Regions from separate parts of the Homo sapiens genome. Here region 2 is linked to region 1. The links are contacts of gene promoters, found by promoter capture Hi-C in blood cells and fetal thymus (Javierre and others, 2016). All regions are on one chromosome and are shown on one strand. Each heading gives the region's core, a stretch centred on a gene start or on the middle of the fragment in contact. The rest is flanking DNA. Distances are from core to core; before and after follow the strand shown. Region 1 holds the start of TMEM190 (transmembrane protein 190). Region 2 overlaps SYT5 (synaptotagmin 5).

Region 1 (4,354 bases), core at 1,539-4,038:
GGGGAGTCCCAAGAAAATGACAGATGACAGAGACAAACAGAGCTGGAGAGACAGGGGCAGCAAAGGCCCCAGGAGGCAGCCAGCGCCACGGAACCCAGTGGAAGCTAGAGACCAGCTTGGAGGCTCGGAAACAGACTGGGCAGCCAGGGCCCAGGCCCTGGGGTGGTCACAGACACTGAGGAGAAGCCTCGGGGACATGGGGGATGGCCAGGGAGTCCTGGCTCCCGCGCGGCCCCGGGGGGAAGCCGAGCCGGCAGGGTGTGAGGTCAGCAGGTCCCAGGCTGTGTGTGTGTCCGTCTGTCAGTCCCTGGGGGGTCCCGTCTGGCCTCTGGGGGGTGACGGGGCAGGCCGGCCACAGAGGCAGCCCAAACCTGTCATTAGCGGTGAGGGCCGTGACGGCGGGGCCCCCCCAGTCCCAAGCCGCGGTCCAAGGCCAGGCGGCCCCGCCCCCCACCCCCTCCTTGATCCCTGAGGAATCCCGGGAATTGGGAAGTGGGTCCAGATGATGTTGACACAGGAAACGGTCAGCAGCTGCCCGGCCTCAGCCCCACAACCCCTCTGACCCTCACCCCCGGCCCCCTGCAGAGCCCCCTCTAACCTGTGTCATCTCTGACGAAGGCAGCCCGGGGCCCACTCAGTACCCACCAGGATGTTTACAGGAGAGATGGGTAACACGGGGAGTCACCCCACGGGGCTTCCTGAGAAATGGGGTCTGGCTCCTAGACCATCCTCCCAGACTCACAAGTTCAGGCCCCCAGCCCCTCCTCCCTCAGACCCAGGAGTCCAGGTCCCCAGGCATTCCTCCCTCAGACCCAATTCTGGCTCCCAGCCCCATCCTTCAGACCTGGGAGTCCAGCCCTCAGACCTAGGAGTCTGGGACCCCCCAGCCCCTCCTCCCTCAGACCCAGGAGTCCAGGCCCCCAGCCCCTCCTCCCTCAGACCCAGGAGTCCGGGACCCCCCAGCTCCTCCTCCCTCAGACCCAGGAGTCCAGGCCCCCAGCCCCTCCTCCCTCAGACCCAGGAGTCCCGGACCCGGACCCCCCAGCTCCTCCTCCCTCAGACCCAGGAGTCCAGGCCCCCAGCCCCTCCTCCCTCAGACCCAGGAGTCCGGGACCCCCCAGCCCCTCCTCCCTCAGACCCAGGAGTCCAGGGCCCCAGCCCCTCCTCCCTCAGACCCAGGAGTCCAGGCTCCCGCCCCTTCTCCCTCAGACCCAGGAGTCTGGGAACCCCCAGCCCCTCCTCCCTCAGACCCAGGAGTCCAGGCCCCCAGCCCCTCCTCCCTCAGACCCAGGAGTCCAGGCTCTAGCCCCTCCTCCCTCAGACCCGGGAGTCCAGGCCCCCAGCCCCTCCTCCCTCAGACCCAGGAGTCCAGGCTCCAGCCCCTTCTCCCTCTAATGCAGGTGTCTGAGTTTACAACCCCCTTTTCCTTCAGATGCAGGACTTCTAGCCCAGAGACTGTCCCAGGGAGCTAAGACTCCCTCCTCACTGTGCTGCAAAGCTGAATGGATGAGTTGGGGTGCACTAGGGATTATGGTTCCAACCCAGCCCCCCATTCCGGTTTCCTCTTCTTGGAAGCCAAGTTTTCTCTCAGTCACTGGGGAGTGGTGGGGGGAATCAATGTGGAAGCTTCAGGATCTCCGTTTAGCCGACTCCCTCCCACCACTCCCTAACCTCTGTTCACAGATGGGGAAACAAATCCAGGAGGGAAATGTGGGCTCCCTGTCCAGGAGCCACCATTACAGTCTCCGAGCAGCTCTGGCCCACCAGGCCCTCAAACTCAGCAGGGGCCCACATGGCCTGTCCCCTTCCCTGTTTGTTTTTTTTTTCTTTTTTCTTTTTTTTTTTTGACACAGAGTCTCACTCCTTCACCCAGGCTAGAGTGCAGTGGCACGATCTCGACTCACTGTAACCTCCACTTTCTGGGTTCAAGCAACCTCCACCTCCTGGGTTCAAGCAATCCTCCTGCCTCAGCCTCCCGAGTAGCTGGGATTACAGGCAAGTAATCACCACGCCCAGCTGATTTTTGTATTTTTAGTAGGGACGGGGCTTCCCCATGTTGGCCAGTCTGGTCTCGAACTCCTGACCTCAGGTGACCCGCCTGCCTTGGCTTCCCAAAGTGCTGGGGTTATAGGCGTGAGCCACCGCGCCCAGCCCTATCACCTTCCCTGCTAAACATTCCCTAGACAGCAGGCCTGGCAGGGCTGAGATGAAAAGCCTTTCTCAAGACCCCTGGACCAGGAGACCCCCGGACTTAGGCTCCGGCCCCTTGTCTCATCCCCCTCCCAGGTCTTCTCATTGCGGGGGGGACTTTCCCTAACAATGGGGCTCAGTGAGGCCTCTGTGTCTCACAGCTCCCCTTCCCCTGGTTGTTAAGGCGAAAAACTCCCTAGCAACGGGGTTTCCTGAACCTTCGGGCCACCCGAATCCACCTTCTCAGGTATCAGTTTCCTTAGGAAAGAAACTCCCTAGCAAAGCCTCCCAGTTCCCCACCCCTCAGGGCGCCCCGGGTGATATGGAGACACGCCCCAGACTCCCACGCCCTTCCAGACTTCTCTTTCCCACCATAAGTGGCCAAAGAGGCTCTTCTAAACCTGAGACGCCCCCACTCTTCCACCAGGTCCCTAAAGAATCAACACCCTAGACCAGGCATGGCCAGGCTGGTGTGAAGCCCTTCCACGTCCGTAGCACACCCCTGACTCCCTAGCAACAGAACTCACAATCCTGGGGCCTGGCGGGCAGGCGGGCGGGGCCGGTTGCTGGGGTGATGTCCTGTAAGGCCTCTTCCCACAGTGGCCCCAGGGGTCTGGGGAGGTGACATGTTGGGCTGTGGGATCCCAGCGCTGGGCCTGCTCCTGCTGCTGCAGGGCTCGGCAGGTGAGGGGCTGGTGAGGCGGGGGAGCTGAGGAGGGACGCCCGGCTCCACACAGCCCTAACACTGCCCTTTCTCTCGCAGACGGAAATGGAATCCAGGGATTCTTCTACCCATGGAGTGAGCAGCCGCTGAAATACTGGGTCACCCAGGGAGGGGAGCCCAGATCAGACCCCTGAATCTGAGGGAGGAGGAGCTGGGGCCTGGACTCCTGGATCTGAGGGAGGACGGGGGGGTCTGGACTCCTGGGTCTGAGGGAGGAGGGGCTGGGGGCCTGGATCCCTGGATCTGAGGGAGGAGGGGCTGGGGTCCTGGATTCCTTGGTCTGAGGGAGGAGGGCTGGACCTGGACTCCTGGGTGTGAGGGAGGAGGGGCTGGGGCCTGGACTCCTGGGTCTGAGGGAGGAGGGGCTGGGCCTGGACTCCTGGGTCTGAAGGAGGGGGCTGGGGCCTGGACTCCTGGGTCTGAGGGAGGAGGGGCTGGGCCTGGACTCCTGGGTCTGAAGGAGGGGGCTGGGGCCTGGACTCCTGGGTCTGAGGGAGGAGGGGGTGGAGTCTGGACCCCTGGGGCCCTGCACAGAGTAAGCACCAGGAAGGCAGCCTGGGAGCATGGCCTTGGAATCTCGTGTATGAGGCCTTCGGAGCGGAGCGCTGTGATGAAGCAAGCCACTGGTGGTTGGTCCCCAGGCTGTGAGGGTGACATATGGGACCGGGAGAGCTGTGGGGGCCAGGCGGCCATCGATAGCCCCAACCTCTGCCTGCGTCTCCGGTGCTGCTACCGCAATGGGGTCTGCTACCACCAGCGTCCAGACGGTGAGGGCTCCTGGCCCCAGGTCCCTGGGGCGTGGGTCTGGCGGTCGGGAGCCCCGGGTCTTAACCCTGCCTCCCTTGTCCAGAAAACGTGCGGAGGAAGCACATGTGGGCGCTGGTCTGGACGTGCAGCGGCCTCCTCCTCCTGAGCTGCAGCATCTGCTTGTTCTGGCGAGTGGGCCTGGGATAGGGCGGGCGCCTGCACCCCCAGGGGGAGGGTCCGGCGGAGGGCGGGGGCTGAGCCGTCCGCTCCCTGCAGGTGGGCCAAGCGCCGGGACGTGCTGCATATGCCCGGTTTCCTGGCGGGTCCGTGTGACATGTCCAAGTCCGTCTCGCTGCTCTCCAAGCACCGAGGGACCAAGAAGACGCCGTCCACGGGCAGCGTGCCAGTCGCCCTGTCCAAAGAGTCCAGGGATGTGGAGGGAGGCACCGAGGGGGAAGGGACGGAGGAGGGTGAGGAGACAGAGGGCGAGGAAGAGGAGGATTAGGGGAGTCCCCGGGGGACTGCTCAATACAGATACGGTGGACGGACGTGTGTTCTCTTCTCTGAAAGCCGTGGGGAGCAGGGGGCATGGTGCACACAGAGGCTGGGGTAACAGGTGGGGGCTGGAGGGGGCTTGGGGATGGAGGCTTAGGGGGCGCCAGGCTGTGGTCGTGGGGGTGTGAGCTGAGGGGG
Region 2 (4,747 bases), core at 916-3,415, 210 kb before region 1:
GGGATTACAGGCGCACGCTGCCACGCCCAGCTAATTTTTTGTATTTTAGTAGAGACGAGGTTTCACCGTGTTGCCCAGGCTGGTCTCGAATTCCTGAGCTCAGGCAATCCACCTGCCTTGGCCTCCCAAAGCGCTAGGATTACAGGCGTGAGCCACCGTGCCCAGCTCCAGCGATTCTTTTTTATTTTTAGTAGAGACGGGGTTTCACCATGTTAGCCAGGCTGGTCTCGAACTCCTGACTTCAAGAGTTCCGCCGGCCTCAGCCTCCCAAAGTGCTGGAATTACCGGTGTGAGCCACTGCACCTGGCCCAGAGTGATCTTAAACATAAATCAAATAATGTCTCCCACCTCTTCAAATCCTCCAAAGTCTTCCCGCTGCACCTGGACACATTCCCCGCTCCTTAGCTTGGCTCCCTATGCCCTATGCAATCTGCAGTCATCCACCCCTGAAGCCACATCAGCCTCCTGGCTCCTTGGAGAACACACCAAGCCGTTTGAACCCCAGGGCCTTTGCAACTTGGGATTCTTTTGCCTTAAATTATCTTCCCCCTCATCTTTGTTTTCTATATATTTATTTTTGAGACAAAGTCTTGCTCTGTTATCCAGACTTGAGTTCAGTGGTGTGATCATAGCTCACTGCAGCCTCAACCTCTCAGGCTCAAGCAGTCCTCCCACCTCAGTCCCCTGAGTAGCTGGGACCACAGGCAAGTGCCGCCATGCCCGGATATTTATTTATTTATTTATGTAGAGAAAGGGTCTCACTAGTTGCCCAGGCTGTTATTTATTTACTTATTTGAGATGGAGTTTCACTCTTGTTGCCCAGGTTGGAGTGCAATGGCGCTATCTCGGCTCACTGCAACGTCCACCTGCCGGGTTCAAGCCATTCTCCTGCCTCAGCCTCCTGAGTAGCTGGGACTACAGGCATGTGCCATCACGCCCAGCTAATTTTGTATTTTTAGTAGAGACAGGGTTTCTCCGTGTTGGTCAGGCTGGTCTCAAACTCCCGACCTCAAGTGATCCGCCGGCCTTGGCCTCCCAAAATTCTGAGATTACAGGCGTGAGCCACTGCGCCCGGCTGTATTTATTTATTTATTTATTTAAGGCAGGGACTTGCTCTGTTGCCTAGGCTGGAGTACTCCAGCCTGAAACTCCTGGGCTCAATCGATCCTCCCACCTCTGCTCCCCAAGTAGCTAGAACTATAGCCACGTGCCAGCATACCTAGCTAACTTTACAAATTTTAAAAATAGAGAGGTTATCCAGGCTGGTGTCTAACCCTGGGCCCCAAGCAATCCTCCTGCCTCCCAAAGTGCTAGGATTAAGGCATGAGCCATCGTGCTTGGCCTTGTTTTCTTTTTAAATTGGTGTAAAACACACACACTATTAAGTTGATTGGGAATGACATTTAGTACACTTGCAATGCTGTGCAACCATCACCACTGTCTAATTCCAGAACTTTCTCATCACTCCAAAAGAAAACACGTACCCCATTTATCTCCCCATTTCTCTCTCCTCTGTCCCTGGCAACCACGAATCTACTTTCTGTCTCTATGTATTTGTCAGTGCAGGAGATTTCTTTTGGATGGAATACTGCACTATGCAGCCTTCTGTATCCGGCTTCCTTCACTTGGCATAATATTTTCAGGACTCATCTATGCTGAAGCATGAATCAATGCTTTCTTCTGTTTTTATGACCAAATAATATTCCACTGTTGTTCTCCCTAACCTTTGCAAGCTTCGTTCCTTCTTGTCATTCAAGTCATGGCCCAGACCGCACCTCCTCAGCAAGGCTGCCCCTGACCACCCTCCCTAAGTTATGTCAGCCTTTTTACGTTTTGGTCCCAGTGTGGACGGCCATTTGTAATGGTTTTATTCTTCTATCGCTCTGCTTTCTTGTTGAGACAGAGACCCAAGGACCCCATTGCCATCATCTAAATCAATCCCAGGATTTAGAGACAGGCTCTCTGGCTGTGTGATTCTGAGCATTTCACAGGAATTCTCTCTCTCTCTCTCTCTCTCTTTTTTTAGATGGAGTTTTGCTCTTGTTGTCCAGGCTGGAGTGCAATGGCGCGATCTCGACTCACTGCAACCTCCACCTCCTGGGTTCAAGCGAGTCTCCTGCCTCAGCCTCCCTAGTAGCTGGGATTACAGGTGCTTGCCACGACACCCAGTTAATTTTTGTATTTTTAGTAGAGACAGGGTTTCAGCATGTTGGCCCAGCTGGTCTTGAATTCCTGACCATAGGTGATCCGCCCACCTCAGCCTCCCAAAGTGCTGGGATTACAGGCGTGAGCCACTACGCCCAGCCCCAAATTTTCTAAAGCACAGTTTGGACTCATTTGTCAACTGGGAATAATGATCATGTTTATTTCATGAGTTTGCTGTGAGGATTATTATTGGCAGTAATAGTAGTAACATAAAGGGCTGTCTTCATAAAGACATGCTCTACAGCCACACACACACACACACACACACACACACACACACACACACTCACACACATGAAAAGTTACTGAATTCCTTTGGAGAAAAATTAAAAATCTCATGGATATTATAATCTGTGTAGCTGTTCTATTTTCACTTTCCCGATTGGCTACCAGGAAGCTTAGGAGCAAGTAAGTTTGTTTGCTGCCTCCTTTTTTGGTACGTGGGGGTAATTTTTGCCTCATTCTCCACTTAATCTGCTGCTCAGAGAGTTCTCTGGCCAAATCTTATAGGTCTTTGTTCACCACCCAAAATTCTGTATGGGATGAGATAAGGTAGAAGCCAATGGAACTATCATCTTTGCTAGAAACAGAGTAGGAGGCAGCATTCGTTGAAAGAACAATGAGGTCAGATGCGGCGGCTCATGTCTACAGTCCCAGCTACTCACACAGGAGGATTGCAGGAGTTTGAAACCAGCCTGTGCAACATAGCAAGACCCCATCTCTAAAAAAGAAAAGAAAAGAAAAGAAAAAATTAGCTAGGCATGGTTGCATGTGCCTGTGGTCCCAGCTACTCAGGAGTCTGAGGCAGGAGGATCCCCTGAGCCCAGGAGGTTGAGGCTGCAGTGAGCTATGATTGCCCCACCGCACTCCAGCCAGGGTACACAGAGAAACCCTGTCAAAAAAAGAAGAAAGAAGAGGCTGAGGCAGAAGAATCGCTTGAACCCGGGAGGCAGGGGTTGCGGTGAGCCGAGATTGCACCATTGCCCTCCATTCTGGGCAACAACAGCGAAACTCCGTCTCAAAATTAAAAAAAAGAAGAAGAGAAGAAAAGAAATAGAAAAGAAAAGAAAAGAAGAAGGGCCGGGCGCGGTGGCTCACGCCTGTAATCCTAGCACATTGGGAGGCCGAGGCGGGCGGATCACGAGGTCAGGAGATCGAGATCATCCTGGCTAACACGGTGAAATGCCGTCTCTACTAAAAATACAAAAAAATTAGCCGGGTGTGGTGGCGGGCGCCTGTAGTCCCAGCTGCTCGGGAGGCTGAGGCAGGAGAATGGCGTGAACCCGGGAGGAGGAGCTTGCAGTGAGCCGAAATCGTGCCACTGCACTCCAGCCTGGGCGACAAAGTGAGACTTCATCTCAAAAAAACAAAAACAAAAACAAAAAAACAAACAAACAAAAAAAAAACAAGAGAAAAAGAAAGAAAAGGAAAGACAGAAAGAAAACAAAAAGGAAAAAAGAAAAGAAAAAAGAAAGAGGTGAAGTTGAAATCATTGGCTTTCCTTGCTGAACTCCAACCTCTCTCGCAGGCTCTGGAGATTGTATTCCCTGGCTCCGCGCCTCTCCTTTGTTTTGATGGCAGTAAGTCGCTTGGGGGGTCAGGTCTGTGTTTGGATATTCTGGGGCCCCAGCACTCAACAGAAGACCTCAGGGAATATGGAATGGAAGGAAGAAAAAAAAGAGAGGGAGGGAGGGATGCAGAAATGGGTATGAAAATCGATGTGAGTCATGGGTGAGCAAGCGAGTGGATAAATTCATGGACAAGCAAGGGAGTTCTCGCGGACTCCTCACAGCCAGCGTGTGGCAGGAATTATTATTATCCCAACATTCTCCAGAGGAGGAAACCCAGGCTCAGAGTGGTGAGTGAGGAATGAACGGGTGAGAGTGTGAGGGAGTCCATGGGGTCAGGCCAGTCTCTCAGAGGCTTTCAGGACGAACAGCACTCACACCGCCCTGCGAGCGCCCATTCCTGGAAACGAGGTTTCCTCTTGGGTCCCAGCCCTTGCCCACCCCCATCAAGGAGCATGGGCCCAGGCCACCGGAGCTGCTGAATATTTATTTGGCCCCAGGAGCAGTGCAGGGATGGGCTGTGTTGGAAGAGAGAGGAGAGCAGACGAGGATGGCTGATTGTCAAAGCAGGGGGCAGGACCCGGGGGCAGGAGAAACCAGGCTGCCTTCCCTTCCCGGGGTCCCTGGGGCATCTGGGTGTGTCCGCGAGGGTCGGGGGAGTGTGCTGGAAAGTTGTCGTGATTGGCATCGTTGGGGGTGAGAAGACAGGAATGGTTCAGATGGTTGGGGTGGAAGGTGGGGGGAGGGTAACCGTCAGAGGAAGCTTAAGGGTGGGGCTGGCTTGGCTTTGGCCGGTCTCGGGAGTCTGGGGTCAGGGGCTAGAGTCCAGGCTTGGCCGGGGGCTTGGGGTGGGAGTCAGGGCGCAGGCAGCAGCCTCACTCGGTCCGGGGGCCGCAGCGAGTGCCACTGGGCAATGGGCCGCCGCGGGTTGGCCAGCATGTCCGCCCAGTGCCGCAGGCCAGCCCCGCCGGCGG

The links. The method cuts DNA at HindIII sites, captures the fragments that hold promoters and counts their contacts. A CHiCAGO score of 5 or more calls a contact.
Region 2: a contact is called between a fragment that was not itself captured here and the fragment with the promoter of TMEM190 in region 1, in 7 of 17 cell types (M0 macrophages, activated CD4 T cells, naive CD8 T cells and 4 more). The highest score is 9.6, in M0 macrophages.

The regions. Positions count from the first base shown.
Region 1 is chr19:55,374,038-55,378,391 of GRCh38, forward strand. TMEM190 (transmembrane protein 190) reads left to right here and starts at 2,789. Exons shown (of 5, transcript NM_139172.3): 1 at 2,789-2,874; 2 at 2,954-2,989; 3 at 3,556-3,681; 4 at 3,765-3,849; 5 at 3,938-4,209. The coding sequence starts at 2,817. The coding sequence ends at 4,166. RefSeq lists a silencer at 514-735. The HindIII fragment of the contact is 5,299 bases long and covers 1,625-4,354 here.
Region 2 is chr19:55,168,856-55,173,602 of GRCh38, forward strand. It overlaps SYT5 (synaptotagmin 5), which reads right to left. Exons shown (of 9, transcript NM_003180.3): 9 at 2,341-4,747. The coding sequence ends at 4,629. Among named protein-coding and RNA genes, the nearest start is that of DNAAF3, 4.6 kb to the left of the region's middle. The HindIII fragment of the contact is 869 bases long and covers 1,732-2,600 here.